Regions from separate parts of the Homo sapiens genome. Here region 1 is linked to region 2. The links are contacts of gene promoters, found by promoter capture Hi-C in blood cells and fetal thymus (Javierre and others, 2016). All regions are on one chromosome and are shown on one strand. Each heading gives the region's core, a stretch centred on a gene start or on the middle of the fragment in contact. The rest is flanking DNA. Distances are from core to core; before and after follow the strand shown.

Region 1 (3,914 bases), core at 74-2,573, about 17 Mb after region 2:
TATGTCCCTGTGTGCATCTCTGTGTCCTAATTTCCTCTTCTCATAAGGACACCAATCATACTGCATTACAGCCCACCCTAATGACCTCATTTTAACTTAATCACCTCTTTAAGAACCAAGTACAGTCACATTCTGAGGTACTGGGAGTTAGGACTTCAACATACAAGTTTGGTTGCGGGGGATGGGGGGTGGGCGGCACGATTTAGCCGATAAAACCCTGCCACATTACTGATTTCCACAAATCACCACGAGATCAAGTCAGCTGTCTATTCTTATTCCACTGGAACAAGCCACAAACCCATACAATTTGGAGGCCATTGCAGTGGTCAAAACACAAGGCCAGGCATGGTGGCCCACACCTGTAATCCCAGCACTTTGGGAGGCCGAGGCAGGCGGATCACCTGAGGTTAGGAGTTTGAGACCAGCCTGGCCAACATGGTGAAACCCCATCTCTACTAAAAATATAAAAATTCGCCGAGCATGGTGGTGGGTGCCTGTAATCCTAGCTACTGGGGAGGCTGAGGCAGGAGAATCACTTGAACCTGGGAGGTGGAAGTTGCAGTGAGCCAAGATCACACCACTGTACGCCAGCCTGGGCAACAGAGCGAGACTCTATCTCAAAACAAAACAAACACCTACAAAGACAAGGAACATAAAAGAGTAAAAGATGGGTAAATATAGAAGTGAATAGAGGCTGGGGACTATGGAGAAGTGGCCGGTGTGTGCCCCATTTCAAGGGAGTGACTGCTACCCATCTCCAGCTAATTGCTGCCTTATGGAAATGCGATCTCTGTGTTACAGCTCTTCCAACTTTGTAAAAAAGAGATGCCAAACGTTTTATTTGACATTCCAAATTTTATATGTTGGCAACTGGTTCATTTTCTTTTAAACACTTTCCAGGCCAAATATAACACATCCCAGGGATGGATTTGGGTCATAGGCCACCAGCTGGGGTCTCCAGTTCAAGTTGGATCCTGGAATTCATTGTACAAATACTTACTGAGCACTTCTAAGACTGAGGGCCCTCTCCAGGATCCAGAGGACACAGTGCTACAGAAGAACATGTTTATTTACTTACGAGACAGACATAAGTGATCATCATCTATATATAAATATATGTAATTGCAGACAGATGAGAGCTAGGAATGAAATGATTGCGATGAGAGACAAAAACAGGGAACTTGGTTAGATTTGTGGTGATGGAAGGATGATTAGGAGAAGGAAAAATGTGCTAAAAACAAGCCAGCATGTGCAAAGGCCCTGAGGTGCTAGGGAATGTGGTGGTTTTCATATTAAAGGAAATGAGGCCAGGCACGGTGGCTCATGCCTGTAACCCCAGCACTTTGGGAGGCTGAGGTGGGTGGATCACTTGAGGTCAGGAGTTCGAGACCAGCCTGGCCAACATGGTGAAACCCCATCTCTACTAAAAACACAAAAATTAGCCAGGCGTGGTGGTGCACACCTGCAGTCCCTGCTACTCGGGAGGCTAGGGCAGGAGAATCACTTGAACCCAGGAGGCGGAGGTTGCGGTGAGCCGAGATCGCACCACTGCACTCCAGCCTGGGTGACAGTGAGACACTGTCTGAATAAAATAAAATAAAGGAAATGAAAGGTGGGCAGTAGGGATGGGACAGGGAGGGAGGGGGAACTAGGCCAAACCATGTAAGACCTAATAGGCCTTGGTGAGGAATTTGATCTTTATCCTCCCCTTCTCCCCCCAACAAGCTACATGCAGGTGATGTCCAGGAGGACTTCCATCCTGGAGAGATTCAGGAGGCAGAAGAAAGGAGACTTAGGGACTTGTTAGCCTTCAACTACAGAGGGCGGGTGATGAGAAGAGGAGCAGAGAATATGGTAATGAGAGGGGTGAAGAGGGGCCAGGGAAGGGCAGATACCATGACAGTACGTCCTGTGAGCTAGGGCCAGCCTAGCCCTAGCCAGGCTAGATCAGAATGCAGGACCAAGGACCAAGCCCTGGGGGAAGGGCTTTACTACACAGGCCGTCCTCCCCTCCACTCTCCAGGATCCTTTGAGGTTGCCTTCCCTGATGCTGCGGAGAAAATGAAGAAGGTCATTACACAGCTTAAAGAAGGTAAAATACACTCCATCTCTCCTTCCCCAGACACACACACACACAATTAGAAAACCCCACTTTTGGCCGGGGATGGTGGCTCACGCCTGTAATCCCAGCACTTTGGAAGGCTGAGGCGGGCAGATCACTTGAGATCAGGAGTTCAAAAGCAGTCTGACCAACATGGTGATACCCATATCTACTAAAGATACTAAAATTAGCTGGGCGTGGTAACGCATGCTTGTAATCTCATCTACTCAGGAGGCTGAGGCAGGAAAATTGCTTGAACCCTGGAGGCGGGGTTGCAGTGACCCGAGATCGGCACTCCAGCCTGGGTGACAGAGCAAGACTCCATCTCAAAACGAAACCCACTCCTGAGACCCCCCATCCACTCCCCGTACAATCCCCTGGCCCCATCTCTGAGCCTCAGACCTTGAGGGACGACTATTTCCCCGCGTGGACCATTTTTGATCTGGCCCCGCCCCTTCGATGAAAGGTTTCGTCTCCAACTGAGCCCCTTTCCGGGACTACTACTAACCTGGCCACGCCTCTTCTCTAACTGGGCCACCACCTTAGCCTTGGTCTCCTGCAAGGATCGCCCAGGATCTAGCCCCGCCTCCTCGGTGGAATACACCTGGATTGCCCATCCCCATCAGGGCCTACAGAAAACCAGTGTGTTTCCCTCTAAACCCCAAGTAGAAGGCTGGCAGCAGTCCTGGGCCTGACCTCCTAGTGGAATGCTCAGGCTTGGCCCCGGCCCCAGGTGGAACCCAGCCGGCTTGACCCCGCCCCCAGGTTATGACGAAAGCTTGGCCCCGCCCCCTCGGAGCAATGCTTCGGGCCTTGTAACATTAGCTAGGGGAGCATCGGGCAAGGGTTCTTCCCATGACTGTAAGGTAGTGATGTTTCCTCTTCCTCCACAGCCCAGGCTTGCATCCCTCCCTGCGGTAAGGACTTCATCTAAAACTTGGAAATTGCGGGGTAAGGGAGGCGGTCGGGGACGAAACGTACGACATCAAGTGTGGGAAAGCGGGTGGGCTTCACATCCTTAGGAAGCCAATAAGATCCCTGGAGAAAAGGAAGAAAACCAAGTATTGCTCTAAATCCTCAGAAGGTGTGTGTGAGAGCCGAAGCAAACCAATAGGAATCCTAGAGGGCGGAGAGGAGTGAGAGTCGGCCAAAGACAGCAGGGAGGGCGGGGTCAAGATGCCACCTGGCCGATGGACCCCGGGAAGCTGCATGGATCTCAAATGGGCCAAGGGCCCCGGGCTTGGAAGGGCAGGTGGCGCCTAGACCCAGCGTTCCCGCTCCACAGGTCTCCAGGAGTTCGCCCGGCGTTTCCTCTGCAGCGGGTGCTACTCTAGGGTCTGCGACCTCCCGCTGGACTGCCCAGGTGAGGGGGCGGGGCCTCGGGGTGCAGGAGGCCAACCTGAGAAAAGGGACCAGAGCACCGAGGGGCATAAGCTGGTGGCGAGGCCAGACGTGGTCGGGGCCCAGCGAGTGAACCCTGCTCCGTCTTCAGTTCAGGATGTGACAGTGACTCGGGGCGACCAGGCTATGTTTTCTTGCATCGTAAACTTCCAGCTGCCAAAGGAGGAGATCACCTATTCCTGGAAGTTCGCAGGAGGAGGTGTGAGTCGGGGCGGGGCCGGCGCGAAGAGTTTAGACGGGCGAGTTAGCCTTCACTAGAGGTTGGGGAGTCAGCTTGCGGGGACGGGACTCCGGGAATCTCCGTCTAGACACAAGCATCAGCAAGAGGAGGGTCGCGGGATTTAGGGGAGAGCTCGAAGATCAGAATGCAGGACCAAGGACCTGGGGCGATGGCTCACGCCTGTAATCCCAG
Region 2 (3,873 bases), core at 1-2,500:
GTCTCGCTGGCTTCAAGAGTGAAGCTGCAGACCTTCAGGGTGAGTGTTGCAGCTCATAAAGGTAGTGCAGACCCAAAGAGCAAAAGAACAAACATCCCACACCTGGGAAGTAGACCCCAGCGCGGTTGCCGCTGGTTGTTCGGGTGGCCCGTTTTTATTCCCTTATTTGGCCCCGCCCACATCCTGCTGATTTGTCCATTTTACAGAGCGCTGATTGGTCTATTTTACAGAGTGCTGTTTGGTCCGTTTTTACAGAGTGCTGACTGGTGCATTTACAAACCTTTAGCTAGACACAGAGCACTGATTGGTGTATTTACAATCCTTCAGCTATACAGAAAAGTTCTCCAAGGCCCCACCTGATCCAGAAGCCCAGCTGGCTTCACCTCTCGGTTATATGCTAATTATATGCATTAGCACGCTAAGAGAAACGCTCATCAGTGCCATGGCAATTTACAAATGCCATGGTAAGGTTCAGAAGTTACCCTGTATGGTTCAAAAAGCTGGGAAGCCCTCAGCTCCGAGAAATTGAAATTGCCCACCTCTTTCCTGGAAAACTCATGAATAATCCACCCTTGTTTAGCACATCATCAAGCAATAAATACAAGTATCCCTAGTCCAGCAGCCCAAGCTGCTGCTCTAACAATGGAGTACCCATTGTTTCTTTACTTTCTTAATACACTTGCTTTGGCTTTGCACTGTGCTCTCCCATGGATTTTTTCTTGCGTGAGCTCTAAGAACTCTCTCTTGGGGTCGGATCCGGACCCCTTTCTGGTAACAGAAGCACTGCTTCACGAAGATCATGCAGGTCAGTACTTAATAAGTACAAAAAAGTCTATAGCGACACTATTTATAATTTTAAAAATGATTGAAGTCAATTAACATTTAAGTGTTAAAAAGAAAGTAAACAACCCAAATATACACAAACAGTAGACTGCTCTGGCTTGCATACAGAGAGGTCCATTGCCCTTTTGGGTGGGCCTAAGAAGCACTTCTGGGGAGAGGGGGCGTCAGGCTGTGATGGCTGCGGGAGGAGTGACTCCTCCCAGGATGAGGGTCTCCATCCTCCCAGTGCTCACTCAAGTTCAGTATTTCCAAGTCCTTCCAGGGGCGTAACGCACGTCAGAACGGCCATTAGTGTCACAGATACGTGTCCCCTTGCATTTCCAGGAAATGCCCTTGGTTGGCGAACTACAGTCGTGACAGTCGGGCCACAGGGCGTTTTGTGAGTTATCGTCTTGGGCAAATGAGTGCCAAAAAAAAAAAAAAAAAAAGACCTGAAGGTGAACAGCATAGCGGCAGGGTTTGGGATGAGAGGAGCCCCTTTGCTAGCAACGGCGAGCACTTGCGCGGTACCAGCAAGGGCTGCCCATGTCTCGGAGGGAAACGTTTGTGTGAGCGCAGGAATGACCCGGAAGACCTTGGCACGGCTGCAGTTTTCTGGGAAATGTAATTTCTTGGTCCGGGCGCCATGGCCCTTATAAGTAGAGGGTGTCCCTTGGTTTCGAGTTGTATCGTTCACCAGAGGACGACTGTGTGCCCCAGGACAATTTGCGCATGGTCCTAGCTGGCCGGCTCTAGGTCGACGGCCCCAGGCGGTTAAGCTACTTACAAAGCCGTGACCGGTTTGCCCGCGGCGCACCAGGTCCGCGCAGCCGCAGAGACCCTTGGGAAGTGTGGTCTTCGGGTGCCGGCGGTTCGCGGCTTCCGGGACATTTGTACCGCAGGGGGAGGATTCTGGGAAATGTGGTTCGCCGTGGGCGGTGCACTGGGTCAGTCCCGCGATAGCTTCAGGCCTGGCGGCGGCTTCCAAGCTAAGGAACGGTTTGGGGCAGTGTCGTTCCCGGAGGTCGGCCGCCGTTACCCGCTCACCAGCTACGCGGCGCGTCAGGTCCGCGGAGGCGCGGGCTCGGGGCGCCTGCGGGACGGTGAGGCCCTGCTGAGGACTCCGGCAAGTGTGGGTCGCGGCGACGGCGGGGCTAAGGCCCTGGGTCCGCGCGCGGTTTGACCACGGCCGGGGCCTTGGGCATTTCCTGGCCTTCCTGTTGAGCCGTGTAAACGCGGGGTGATGACGGCGCCGACCTCTTGGCACTGTTGTGAGAGCGAAGTGGGCGCGAGAGCAGACGCCAGCTACAGTTTTTTTTGGGTTATGTCGTCATGAAGCCGGCGCTTTCAGTTGTGCAACCTTGAACAAATGGGTTCAGTATCTCGGAATTTCAGTTTTGTCTTCATTTTAAAAAATAAATCTGGTTTAGAACTCGACCTCAAGCGATCCGCCCGCCTCCGCCTTCCGAAGTGCTGGGATTAAAGGCGTAAGCCACCGCACCAGCCTAACGAACATGGCGAAACGCCGTCTCTACTAAAAATACAAAAAAAAATTAGCTGGGCGTGGTGGCACGTGTCTATAATCCCAGCTATTCGAGAGGTTGAGGTAGGAGAATCGCTTCAACCCGGGAGGCAGAGGTTGCAGTGAGTCGAGGTCGCTCCATTGCACTCCAGCCTGGAGACAGAACGAGACTCCGTCTCAAAAAAAAAAAAAAAAAAATCTGGAATAATATGAATGCACACCTTGCAAAGTGGTGAAGACTGAACGAGCTGATAAAGTTGTTACCGTTGTTTTATGAGTCTTTTGTATACAGAATAATTGATTTTCCCCGCAGGTGGCACCTGGTAAATAGCCCTTGCGGAGAAACACCCTGTTCCTTCCCAGGGAGAGATTGACGCTCCGGCGAGTGATTACCAGTGTGCTTTTCCATTAAGGTGTGTGACAGGTGCCGCAAGATAAGCCCGATTTTTCATGACTGCTTTTTCCTGCCTTTCTGTGCCCTCAGGACACTGCCCATCTCTAAGATAAGAACCTGGAAAGGGGACTCTGTTGGCCATTGGAAATTGCAGAATAATGTCTCAGGTAAGTCGGTGTGTCCCCAAATCTTCCTGAAACACTTTATTAGGCCTCTGTGTGTTTGCTTTGCTTCTCCTGCCTGTTCCCACCTAATCAAGTCCATTTAAGGGACTAGATCTATGGTTCCTTTCACTATAGGAAGAATGGAGCCCACAGGAGAGCTCCAAGGTATTGTCCTCATCACCCAGTGTTCCTCTTTTCTACAGTTTTCTGCTAGAAGACTTTCTAGATTGCCAACATTTTAAAACTGTAATTCACAATGCAACTTTGGAATGTAAGGTTATTCGGTTTATGGTTGTCAAAACTGTACCATGTGGTCTCAAGTGAAGAGATGTTTGGAGTCATCCTTGATTCTTCCTTTTGACTTATAACTCATATTCAGGTCCTCTAGTTTGGATCTAAACGATACACCGTATACAGCATCTGACCATTAGTTAGCCCATCACCACCACCACCACTACCACCCCAGTCCGAGCCACCTGGATTATTGCGGTAGCCTCCTAGCTGGATTCCCAGCATCTGCCCTTAACCCTCATCAGTCTGTTCTCAGTACAGCTGTGACCATGGTCCTATTGTTATATAAATTCCTGTCATTCCGCAACCTAAAATTTTTCAGTGGTTCTAACTGAGTCACTTCTGCAATGACCTATTTGTACAATTAGGCCATTACCTCCCTGATCCCACCTTCCTTCTCTGCCTCCTCATTCCTGTGCGCTCCAGCCTCTGTCACCAGTTGCTGTGCCATCCACGTGGAATATTCTTCCCCCACATACGCACAAGCTTGCATCCTTATCTCCTTCTGTGTTTGTTCCGTGGTTACTTTCTCAGAACAGCTTCCCTGAAAGCCTATTTGCAATTGCAGTCACCTTCCCTAGCGCTTCCACTCCTCCATCACTGCTTTGTTGTTTTCCACAGTGTGTGTCACTCACTAGCTGATGTACTGTATGTTCAGTATATGCACGTGCTCATTGTCT

The links. The method cuts DNA at HindIII sites, captures the fragments that hold promoters and counts their contacts. A CHiCAGO score of 5 or more calls a contact.
Region 1: a fragment that was not itself captured here is called in contact with the fragment with the promoter of SCGB2B2 in region 2 in 1 of 17 cell types (fetal thymus); the score reaches 7.0 in fetal thymus.

Annotation. Positions count from the first base shown.
Region 1 is chr19:51,699,635-51,703,548 of GRCh38, forward strand. It overlaps SPACA6 (sperm acrosome associated 6), which reads left to right. Exons shown (of 9, transcript NM_001316972.2): 3 at 2,024-2,092; 4 at 2,995-3,018; 5 at 3,387-3,464; 6 at 3,594-3,703. Among named protein-coding and RNA genes, the nearest start is that of SPACA6-AS1, 8.1 kb to the left of the region's middle. The HindIII fragment of the contact is 3,108 bases long and covers 1-2,877 here.
Region 2 is chr19:34,675,909-34,679,781 of GRCh38, forward strand. It overlaps SCGB2B2 (secretoglobin family 2B member 2), which reads right to left and starts at 1,251. Exons shown (of 4, transcript NM_001025591.4): 1 at 1-1,251. ZNF302 (zinc finger protein 302) reads left to right here and starts at 1,770. Exons shown (of 5, transcript NM_001289187.2): 1 at 1,770-2,195; 2 at 2,829-2,905. The coding sequence starts at 2,897. It also overlaps the pseudogene ZNF807P and the pseudogene SCGB1B2P. RefSeq lists enhancers at 742-1,639, 1,299-1,398, 1,449-1,508, 1,640-2,536, 3,394-3,873 and a silencer at 1,959-2,018. The HindIII fragment of the contact is 5,389 bases long and covers 1-3,677 here.